Regions from separate parts of the Homo sapiens genome. Here region 1 is linked to region 2. The links are contacts of gene promoters, found by promoter capture Hi-C in human tissues and cell types (Jung and others, 2019). All regions are on one chromosome and are shown on one strand. The core of a region is centred on a gene start or on the middle of the fragment in contact, and the rest is flanking DNA. Distances in the headings are between cores, read along the strand shown. Region 1 has its middle 11 kb from the start of TCOF1. Region 2 holds the start of MYOZ3 (myozenin 3).

What was found. The method cuts DNA at HindIII sites, captures the fragments that hold promoters and counts their contacts. A contact is called where the count stands out against the background at its distance.
Region 1: a contact is called between a fragment that was not itself captured here and the fragment with the promoter of MYOZ3 in region 2, in 1 of the 25 tissues and cell types used here (spleen).

The regions. Positions count from the first base shown.
Region 1 is chr5:150,343,223-150,349,212 of GRCh38, reverse strand. No RefSeq gene overlaps it. Among named protein-coding and RNA genes, the nearest start is that of TCOF1, 11 kb to the left of the region's middle. The HindIII fragment of the contact is 4,296 bases long and covers 1,902-5,990 here.
Region 2 is chr5:150,658,857-150,664,851 of GRCh38, reverse strand. MYOZ3 (myozenin 3) reads right to left here and starts at 3,601. Exons shown (of 7, transcript NM_001122853.3): 1 at 3,425-3,601; 2 at 1,850-1,911. The coding sequence starts at 1,910. SYNPO (synaptopodin) reads right to left here. Exons shown (of 3, transcript NM_007286.6): 3 at 5,645-5,995. The HindIII fragment of the contact is 3,368 bases long and covers 1,246-4,613 here.

The DNA of each region.
Region 1 (5,990 bases), core at 2,800-5,299, 320 kb after region 2:
GGGCCAATGAATGGGAAGTTAATTCCAGATGAAACTCTCAAACAGTAATCAGTGACCTGGAAGACAATTGACCTTAGGGCAACTGTCCAGCTCCCTGATTTTTAATAACTAAGATATTTGGCATGTGAAAAATGCAGGGACACACACATACAGTTCCATGTTCCCATGATCTAGATTTCTTTCTTTCTTTTTGAGACAGAGTCTTGCTCTGTTGCCCAGGCTGGAGTATAGTGGCACGATCTTGGCTTATTGCAACCTCTGCCTCCCAGGTTCAAGCAATTCTCCTGCCTCAGCCTCCCAAGTAGCTGGGATTACAAGCATGCGCCACCAAGTCCAGCTAATTTTGTATTTTTAGTAGAGATGGGGTTTCACCATGTCATCCAGGCCAGTCTCGAACTCCTGACCTCAGGTAATCCAAATGCCTCAGGCTCCTAAAGTGCTGCGAAAGGTGTGAGCCACCATGCCCTGCGTAGATTTCTTTTACTTTTTTTTTTTTTTTTTAGAGACAAGTGTCTTGCTCTGTCACCCAGGTTGAACTGAGATGGTGATCATAGCTCACCGCAGCTTGAAATTCCTGGGCTCAAGCGATCCTCCTGTTTCTTCCTCCAGAATAACTGGGACTACAGGCACACACCACCATGCCCAGATAATTTTTAGAAACTTTTTGTAGAGACAGGATCTTGCATTGTTGCCCAGGCTGGTCTCGATCTTCTGGCTTCCAGTGATCCTCCTTCTGCCTTGGCTTCCTAAAGTGCTGGGATAAGAGGTGTGAGCCACAGCAGCCGGCCTAGATTGTGAAAAAAGACATTTCAAATACATAAGAGCATCTCAGTTCATTTCCCTTCCCTTTGCCCAGAGATAGTCACCAGCCCATTCCCGGAAGTTGGCATGAGTTGTTCCTGCACATGTTTATGTATACATGCTATACATGTATTCATTCATAAAACATAGAAAGTGTTGCTTTGTAGCTTTAAACTCTTTGTAAATGACATAATATTGTGCATAGCCTTCTGCAACTTGCTTGTTTTCATTCAACATTGTGTTTGAAATTTATCCACATTTGATGTGCAGAGCACCAGTATACACATATCCACTATTCAATCAATTTCATTGTAGGGGCATGTACTACAGTTTATCAATCCATTCTCCTGTTGATGGGCATTTGAATGATGTCCAATTTTCCATAATAAAAACCGCACTGCCGTGACCATCCTCATGCGTGTCTTGCATGTGCCTGGGGAAGAATGGCCGGGTGTGTGAGTATCTTGGGGCTCCCTGCCATTGCCTGACTGTATCTGAAAGGGTCAGTTTCTGTGGCTCCACATCCAGACTTGACCTGGCAATAGTCAGACTTTGGGATGTTTATCACTCTGATGGGGGCCAAATGTCTCTCGTTCTTGTTTTTAAGTTCTATTTCTCTGAAGAGTGGAGTTAAACCGTTTTCATAATTGTGCTAGTGGTTTGGATTTCCTCTTCTGTGGATCGCCTCTTGTACCCCCTGTCCGTGTTTCCATGGTGCTGTTCGTGTCTTTCTTATTGATTTGCAGGAGCTCTAATCTTGTGGTCTGCTGCGACTGTCTTTTGTTAGTCTGTGAATTATTTTTTCACTTTATGTATGCAGTCTTGCGATGCACAAAGGCTTTAGGTTTGAATATAATGAACTGCGTCAATGTCTTCCTCTATTGTTTGGGGTTCTACAATCCGCAGCAAGCTGAGGCCATTTCTTGGTGTGGCACCCTCCTCAGGAGGCCTTGACCTCAGGTGGAATGTTAGCACGGGCTTTAGAGCAGGGCCCACTTGGGTTGAAATTCAGGCTGAGTGATTTATAGGCTGGTGAACTTGGGGATAAGTCATTTTACCTTTGGGTTTCAGCTTCTTTACTTGTAAAATAGGGAAGAGAACTGTCTTGAGCTCTCAGGGGTGTTATGAGGCTGGAGGAAGCAGGTCAAGGCACAGTGGGAAGTCTTGAAATCCCCCAGGGAGAGGGAGGACTCACTGAGAAAAGCCTCAGAAGACGCTGCTCCCTGAGAGCCATCCAGTGTGAATGTCCTAATCTTGCCTGGCCCCAAGATTACAGTCTCTTCAAATCTAACTTTGCATCTGCAAGTGGAGCTGAGTCTCTGGAGGAGCTGGGACATGCGAGACATGAGACACCAGTCTCCCTCCTTTTCCCTCCCACCCATGGCCCTGGGTTCTGAGCTGTTCCTGGGGCCATGCTTGGTGACTCTGGAAGCAGGAACTTATGGAAGTGGCATACGTGATGTCTCAAGAAAACCGGAAGAGGACGGAGGATGTATCCCATGGCCTCCATACACCATGGCCACTCAAAGCTGCCCAGTCACCCTCGCAGCAGGGTGGGGAGGGCATCTGAGGGCTCCAAGAGAATATTTGTCTGGGGAAAGAAAAGGACACACGTGCCTGGTGACTCTCACTCATATGTGACCACGTGCCAGCCCACACAAACAGGTCTCTTGAGGCCATGGCAGGGGGCTACCCCATCACCTCTGAGCAGTTCAATCCTGGGCACAGCATACACAGGAACAGGTTTGGAGGGGAGGTGGGCAGAGGCCTCTGGGTCCAGCAGCCTCTTGGACAAGGCCATAGAACCCATGGCAAATAGGTCTGGATGATGCCTCCTTCTTCGTCCCACTTACTGACCGCGAGTCACCCCACCATCACCACCTCTGAAAGGTCAGCCTGCTCACACGGCCAGAGCACTGGATTCCAGTGGAGAATGTAGTTCAAAAACTGAAACCTGTTTTTGGAGAAGATGATGTATACACATGATGCAAACGTGTAAAGGTATGCAAAGGGTACCGAGAAAAGTAAATCTCCTGGGCTCCCATCCTCTGTTCCCCAGCTTCTCGGTTCTCTTCCCAGGAGGATGCAATATTACCAGGGCTTAGATATGACTGCATACACACACACACACACACACACACACACACACACACACACACACAGAGGCACACAATATTGATAGTAGTACATTATATACACCAAGGTAAACCTTGCTTATTTTTTCACCCCATCTTCTCTCCCACAAATGTGGACCTGGAATGTAACAGGCGAGAGTGAATGCAGAACGGATGCATTAGTGGATGAGGTGGTGGAAGGATGAACAATGTCCGTCCAGGTGCAGGCTTTTTCTACTCTGTGTTTTGAGACTCATCCTGTCCCTGAGAGGATCTCTCTCCTTTGGCCCATTGCTGCAGGTGGGTAAATTCAGGCCTTCTTGACCCTGGCACAGAGCCATAATGGGGGAACTAAGTGAACCAGGCAGCTGAACAGCTTAATTGTCATTTCCACCAGCAGATGGTTACCAGGGAAACTCAAAGAATGTTAGAACAGGGACGGGTTTTCAGGCAATGTGGAGGCAGCCTGACAGAATCTCAGAATGGGAAAGGGGACGGTTCCGACAAGTTCTTCAAGAGTTTGATTTTTAATTTTCATTTCAATGATAATCTAAAATAATTAAAGATTTTAACCGGATGCAGTGGCTCATGCCTGTAATCCTAGCACCTTGGGAGGCCAAGGCGGGTGGATTGCCTGAGCTCAGGAGTTTGAGACCAGCCTGGGCAACCCGGTGAAACCCTGTCTCTACTAAAATACAAAAAATTAGCTGGTGTGGCAGTGCGCATCTGCAATCCCAGCTACTCGGGAGGCTGAGGCAGGAGAATTGCTCGAACCCAGGAGGTGGAGGTTGCAGTAAGCTGAGATTGCACCACTGCACTCCAGCCTGGGAGACAGAGTGAGACTCGATCTCTAAAAAAAAAAAAAAAAGAAAAATTTTAGGCCAGGCACAGTGGCTCACGCCTACAATCCCAGCACTTTGGAAGGCTGAGGCGGGTGGATCACCTGAGGTCAGGAGTCCGAGACTAGCCTGACCAACGTGGTGAAACCTGCCTCTACTAAAAATACAAAATTAGCTGGGTGTGGTGGCAGCGCCTGTAATCCCAGCTACTTGGGAGGCTGAGGCAGGAGAATCGCTCTAACCCGGGAGGTGGAGGTTGCAGTGAGCTGAGATTGCACCATTGCACTCCAGCCTGAGCAATGAGAACGAAACTCTGTCTCAAAAAAAAAATTATATTTTTCGATAATTTGAACATCTGCCTTATAACATTGTATGGACAAGTGATTTCAATGCTGTGTTGATGTTTGCCTTTGTGATCACACTGGCGCTGGGGTAATCAATGACTTTACAGCCACCTGAATAAACCAAGATTTTGCTGTAAATCAAACTTAGAAGGTTCTTAAATTTGTGTCTGCAGACTCCTAAGATTTCTGGGCATATTCTTGGGCCAGTGAGAATTATTTTGGAGGCATCTGTATGTTACTCAAGTATGAGAAACCCTGGTGAGGACAAAAGGACCCCAGGCAAGAGTTGGAAGCTTGGATTCGGCTCCTGTCTCTGCCTCTTCTTATCAATTGGGTCACTTGGACTCTTCTGTCTCTTCTGCTTTAATTTTTCCACCAGTAAAATAGGATCAAAATGCCTTCTTCACAGCATATTAAGAACACAAAATGAGGTAGTGAATGTGAAAGTTCTGACTTTGTAAGCATCAAGCATTTCATCTTATAAAGGAGGGAAACAAGACTTGAAGAGGTGAAATGACATCTCTGTTATCAAACCATCATCGGCAGAGCTGGGCTGGGAGCTTGGGCTTCTAACCCTCAGTTGCCCTGGGCACGTTGGCCACTAGCAGTAATGGTGTGACTAATTCTGGAAAGCGTAATAACATCTCAGGTGGGGCCTTTTGCTATTTGGGCAAACATGCTATCTTTATTTTTATTTGTTGAGAAGATTAAATTAGGGAAGCCAAACAAATAAATAAGCACATTGAATTTCCCACAGCTATACCTCTCTTCCTGGAGCAAAAACAAACTCTTTCCTCAGGCAGAAGGTCAGACAGGAGGCATGTGGGGACAAAACACCCAGGTACTTCAGTGTCAGCCTCCTGGATTTGCTGTTTTGCTGGGTTGAAGGGCCACTGAGCCAGGCGTGTGGGCTTCATGTCAGCACCCAGCTGCTCTGAGGAATGTGTTTCAAGGTTGGGGGCACCCAGGGCAGGCTGAGAGTTCCAGAAAGCAGGGACTTTGTGTGGCTACTGCTGTTTCTCCCAAGCTCAGCTCGGTGCCTTGCACATATGGGTGTGCAATCAATATTTAAAGAATAAGGCCGGATGCCGTGGCTCATGCCTGTAATCTTAACACTTTGGGAAGCCGAGGGGAGTGGATTGCCTGAGCTCAGGAGTTCGAGACAAGCCTGGGCAACATGGTGAAACCCAATCTCTACTAAAAATACAAAAAATTAGCCGGGTGTGGTGGCACATGCCTGTAATCCCAGCTACTCGGGAGGCTGAGGTAGGAGAATTGCTTGAACCCGGGAGGTGAAGGTTGCAATGAGCCAAGATCGTGCTGTTGCACTCCAACCTGGGGGGACAGAGCGAGACTCCATCTCAAAAACAAAACAAAACAAAACAAAAAACAAAACATAGGAATAATGGAAGGAAGGAATGAATGACTAGAGTCACAGTCTTTGTGTTAAAATATTTGGAGTGGTCTCAGAGAAGATGTATCTTGCAAGTCCAGGTTCAAAATCAGGAGATCAGGAAACAAGGGATCTCAGGGCAAAATGGTCTTCTGGCCTGGATTTCAGGAATCAGGGAGGTAAGTAGGAAGTGAGGCTCAGTGCAGAGGCTGAAGTCAGTCACAGTGGATCGACTGACTGCTTTGCTGTATCAGTCTGTTCACTGAGCGTCTTCCTCTGTGTCAGGCTCTGTGCCAGTTGCTGGGGATCCCAAGTGAAAAAGGCCCACATGCCAAGAACTCCCACCTATGGTAATGTGCCCCTACTAGTGAAGAAGAGTTTGGACTTTGAAATCACAAAGACATGGGCTCAAACCCCAGCTCTACGATGTATGACGTTGGGCAAGTTATAGTACTTCTCTACGTTTCAGTTTCCTTACCTGTAAAATGGGATTAAGAAT
Region 2 (5,995 bases), core at 2,352-4,851:
TTAAACAAATTTTTTTAATGTATGCCAAGTCAATGGCAAGTGAATTTTTTTTTTAAAAAGTGATGTATTATCATTGTAACCATGTAATAAAGAAACAGCTCTGAAGACAAAGAGACCTGGAGTCAAATTGCAGCTCTACCACCTACCAGATGTGATCACCTGCTCCTCTGAGCCTCAATATTCTCATTTCCAAAATGAGGAGAATATCTAACTTAGGGAGTTGTGGTGGGGATGAAATGACACAAAGCATAAAGGATACTTTTCTCTTAGCAAAGTATCTGCCACATAGTAAGCATGCAATGATGGTAAACATTTTTATAACTTTTACTTTACAGTGGCCGTCTTTAGGTAGTGAGATTATGAGATTTATTTTTTCTTCCTACTTTTGTTTCAAAATTGTCTTTAGTCAGTACCTTAGCAATAATCAACAAGTTATATATTTCAAGTCTTGTATCAATGATGTGTCTCCATATTTGGGGGTCTGTAATGAACTCCCCAAGAGAAAAGAGAATGCATTGCCTGACCCTTCTAGTTAGAGCGTCAGTACCCATAGAATGTGCATATTTCAGCTACAAAATCAGGGTAGGGGAAGAAACTGGACATCAACAAAAGGAGGCAAGAGCACACAAAATAGGTTAAAAGGATGCCACATATGAAGTCATGAAATATGACTGACTCCTTAGCACGCTGAAGGCAAATGCACAAGTCCTAACTTAGGTCCCCTGAGTCAGAATCCTCAGGAGTAGATGCTGGGACTCTGTATGCTTAACCAACATCAAATCATTATGATTCACAATAAAGCTTGAGAACTCTGACTTAGTTGAATTAATTTTTTTCTTTTTCTTTTTTTTTTTTTTTAGAGACAGAGTCTCCCTCTGTCACCCAGGCTGGAGTGCAGTGGCACAACCGTAGCTCACTATAGCCTCCAACTCCTAGGCTCAAACGATCCTCTTGCCTCAGCCTCCTGAGTAGCTGGGACCACAGGCATGTGCCACCATGCCTGGCTAATTTTTTTTTTTTGTAGAGATGGAGTCTCACCATGTTGCCCCGGCTGGTCTCAAACTCCTGGGCTCAAGCAATTCTTCCACCTCAGCCTCCCAAAGTGCTGGGATTAAAGGCATCAGCCTCTGTGTCCAGCCCCTAAATTAATTTTTAAAATACCTGAAATCCTCTAAAGTAGACCAAATAAACAGATTCCAAAATTGTATCAAGAGTTCCTCAAGAGGTCTTCTAAAATTGATAAAAATGAATTTAAACTTTTTTAATGAAATGATAAAAATGATTTACTCATTTGATGAATCAGCTTTAAGTAGAAAGTTTTGTATTCAAATGGGCAGCCTGCTCTTCCCACCCTGCTCCACTCTCTCGACTCCCCTGTCTTCCCACCCTACTCCACTCTCTCCACTCCCCTCTCTTAGCCATGGGGCCCAGCCATCCTGGGCCACCCAGAGGCCTCGGTGAGACCCACAGGAGTAATAGGCAAAGGCAAGTGTGTGCAGAGCTTGCAGCCACAGGTAGGGCTGGAGTTGGGACCAGAGTCTTCAGAGCTTAATTTGGGGCTGAGGTGAGGCCTTAGATGAAGCCAGGGCCAGGGTCATTTTAGAGCCAAGGCCCAGCCTGGGACACTCAGCCTCAGCTCCTGGGTCTGTGGACAGATGGGCAAGACCCCTCCCAGTGCCTCAGGGAAGCTTCCCAGCCTAGGCAGCAAATTCTACAGGCACTCCCTCAGAGCTGGCCTGGAGCTCACACCTGTCTGCCCAGGCCTGGGGCCAGCAGGCCAGAGTGAGTGCAGCCTGGGAGCAAGGAAATGATGGAGTCTGAGGAAGGCATGAGGCTAGAACCACCTTACCTGGTTCAGTGAGGTCCCCCATGGCAGCCATCACTGGCCCCTTCTGCTCCTTGGGGATCATCCTGTGGAGGAGAGACCCCCATAAATGGACCAGGCTGCCTCCATTTCTCCCCAGACCTCCTTCCAGTCTCTGGTTCACCCTGCCCCAGTCCTGAACAGCTTTAGGCCAGCCCCAAATCACAAGCAAGGGATGTCTGAGCTGGAAGGGACTTCAGGGTCTCCGTGCAGAGGAGACTGAGGCCCAGGGAACGAGAGGGAGGTGCTCAAGTTTGCACGAATCTATTTTCATGTTGCTAGGGAAGCACTGTCTCTTCAGGGGTGGTTTCTAGGGCCTTTTCCCAGCTCTGGCATCCTGATCAGAGGGAGAGTAGGTGCCAGGGGCATCCGGGTGGGGCAGGCAAAGGTCTCAGGCACTACTGTCATCGGTTGACCCAGGAGAGTCCTAGTCCAAGGCTGAAAGAAGTTGGAGGTTTAAGTTAGGGGAAGGGGGAGGATGGACTAGGTTGGGGTTACACTGGGGTCTGCAAGGCTGGTGAGCCCCTTTCATCCTTGGCACTTGGCCCTGACGCTTGAGGGCACAGGCTGGTCCAACCAAGCAGAGAGAACCATCCCCCGTCCTCCCCATCTCCCCGCTACTGGGCTAACTTCCGTGGTGTTCTCTTCTCCCTCGTCCCTTCTCTTCCTCCTGTTCCATCCCCCTATTTGTATCTCATGGCACTTTCAAAGAATCTTGGAAGAGATTTGCAAATAAAATGAGGTCCAGAGCCCTTAACTTGCCCAGGTACCTTAACTTGCCCTCTGGAGAAGAGGCAGAGCCCTTGAGCTCCTCGACTGACCACCCACCTGGGTACCCTTCTCCTTTGCCTCCAGGTTTTCCTATACTCCTTCCTTTAGAAAACAATCTGCCTTCATCTGTATCCCCAACACCGACAAGGGGCCCTGGGAGTCAGTGGGCACTGCATTGTGCAACTGGAGTCTAGTGGGTGTCCCTGGCTTTCTCTGTAACTGCGAACAAGTAGCTTTCCAGCTCTGCACCTCAGTTCCCCCATCTGTAACAGTAGGGGGTTAGGCTAAATCACAGAGATCCATGGATGGGCTTTAGGGTGTTCACAAACCCCCTAAAACTATACGTAAACATGAGTGTGTCTACATGCATTTGGGGTGAGGGTCATGGGATGATTGAGAATGCCTCGATCACAACCGTTTAGGATTCCACAGTCCACAGATCTGTTTCTTGATAAACACTCCCTTTACAGAAATTCACAGATGCTGGGAAGGGTCTCTCATTTTACAGAGAAGCTGCTTCCCTCTACTGCCTAAAAATCCCAAAGTCCTGAGCAGAGCCATTACCTATTCCCCACCTTTAATCCTAGCCACACCCTCCCCATTTAATGCAGGGTAACCTAGAGCTTAGAGTTCCTCTCCTCCCAAACCAGGATCGAGGCTTGCATGGGGCCCCAAACTCCCTAGATCCACTGCAGGGCCCTTCCTCTCCGGGGGAAGGAGCTCTGGGGATTGGCTCACCTCCTCTGCCCACTCCCCTGAGTTCCCCAAGCTCCCCTAGGATGCTGGTACCTGAGAGGATGGGACCACAATAGGCAGGAGGGAATCTTAGACCCTCAAGATTAACACCTCTGTCGGGAAGCTGAGAGTTGCGTGGCGTCCCTGTAGGCAGTCAGCGGTCAGCAGTCAGTAGGCAGCGAGCAGGGTGTCCCCTGCAGCCAGCTCTGGCTTCAGCTGATGAGAATCATTCCTGCCTTGCCATGGGTCACAGCCTTATTTCGGGCTGCAATAGGAGCTGGAGCCAGAGGCTAAAAGCACCAGACCCTAGGGAAGACAGGTGCCCTGGCAACAGGCCTGTGCAGACAGAGGGCTTGCACCCACGTGTACACACACACTCACATATGCACACACCAAAGTCACCTGGAAATGTTGAGGGTCAGCTGCTGGTAGCTTCCGCTTGTTAACTGTTATATCCTTAGTGCCAAGAATGGTGCTTGATAGGAACTCAGCAGATATTTGTCGAAGGAAGGAATGGATGGATAGATAGATGGATGAATGAATTGCTCCTCAATATCTTTGCTTGACTTATCCTTTTCTTCCTTCCTTTCTTCTCTCCTGCCTTTCTTCTTCTGCCTCCTTCCTGCCTGCCTTCTTTTCTCCCCTCCTCCCTCCCTCCCTCCCTCCCTCTACCTTCTCACATTCCCTGAGCCTCTCTCTAAGGACTGAAAATAAATAAGGCAGGGCTCTGTCTTCAAGGAGCTCAGCCAGGTCAGATTCAGACGGGTAAACAAGCTTTGGGGAAGGCTCTGGGAGAGCCCAGGGGAGGGAGTTACCAGCTCAGCCTGGGGTGGGGGGTGAGAAGGCTTCCCAGAGGAGGACACACTGGAGTTGGGCCTTGAAGGATGAGTGGGAGTTCACTGGGCAGAGAAGGGGCATGGCAGGCAGTGGACATGTCACCTACAAAGATGGGTAGGGGGTTGGCAAGTAGAGCCGGAGCTGGGGGCAGTGCTGAGAGATTAGCCCAGACAGTGGGGGCAGCGGCCAGATCCCAGCAGGCTTTCAAAAGGAAACTGTGTTTATAAAGGGTTGCTGACAAGATTAAAGTGGTGAAATGGAGTGATCGGATTGGCATTTTCCAAAGATATCTTTGCTGCCATGTGGGAAATGGGTTGGAGGGGGCCAGACTGGAGGCAGGAGGACCTGACTGTCACCAGGGGTGGCTGGATCAGGGCAGTGACAAGGAGATGGAGAGGAGAGGGAGTTGAGGGTTATTTGAAGAACCCTTGGGTCTTGGTGAGGAACTGGATGTGGAAGGTGAGGAAAGGGAGTCCCACTCCCCTGTTTCATGCTTGGGTGACTGGAAGGGGAGGAGCAGGAGGGGTGGGGGCAGACACTGAGGTCAGTTTTGGATGAACTTTGAGGTGTCGGGGGACTGGGATGAGATCACCAGTAGGCAATGGGACACTGTGCTGCAGTGAGGCCCCAGCCGAAGATAAAGATTGGGTCCAAGGCACACACTCCTGGGGAAGGGTGGGCCTAGCAAGGATGGGCTGGGTGCAGGGTGGGGACCACCGGTGTCTGTGTGCTGGCAGACTATCCTGGGGTGTATTTCTGACACCTCTCAAATCAGAAGCCTAGATTCTGCTGTCCACCACCCTGACCTTAGCTTCCTGGCCCTCGGTGGGCCTGAGCTTCTAGAGAGGAAGAGTGAGGTGTGTTCCCAGGGCAAGCTTAGCCTCACCTGGGAGCAGGATCACAATCCCCTTCTCTGGCCAAAGGACACTCCTGCCAGGAGAGGATGCCTCATGGCCCGAGTCCTTGCCTCACTGGGGCTGCCTGGCTCAGACGGGACCTCTTACAGTGGCGCCTTTCCTGCCCTGGCACCCCCACCTGCCATGAGGAAACAGCCTCAGAGCACAGAGCCCTGACCCAGCTTGGCCCTGCCCACTCTGGTGATAGTGCTCTGTGGTCAGGGCCTGGACAATACCACCCTGAGACATTACCTAGACCCACTCTCCCCATTATACGGATGGGGAAGCTGAGGCCTAGAGAAGGAGTGGGCTCACCCAGGGTCACCCCGCTCGTCCATGACAGGACCAGGACTGCAGTCCAGGTACTTCTATGGCCTCAAGTTGTCCGTTGTTCCCATCTCTCCCCATGGCTGCTTCTTCCCAAGCTCCCATCCCATATGTCTCAAATATTCCCAGCCACCCAGAGTCCCATGGACTGCTCCATGCTTGGGGAGAAGGGAAGGACATCAGACACAGCTGAAAATGACACAGGAGGCAGAAGAATGCAGGAAGCATTTATTGAGGGCCAGAGCTGCATTCTACAAGAGGCAAGAGGCAGGACACAGGCAATCTCTAGTGGGTTAGAGGAGAGGTTGGGGAGAGGGCAGTGACAATGAGAGAACAGCCAGGCGCTGGCTTGGGAACTGCCGGTTTCTCAAGGCTGCCTCCTGCTAGTCCTCTGGGAAATGCAGGTAGAAATGGATCCTCTATGCTACTGCCTCAGCCAGAGGCCTGATGGTGTCCCTTCCCTGGGAGGGGCCCTTAGCCCCAGTCTCCTGTGCTACAAGGGACCCAGCAGCAGGTAGGGGCTTTGGTAAATATAGTCACTCATCATTAACTGAGTAAGAGCACC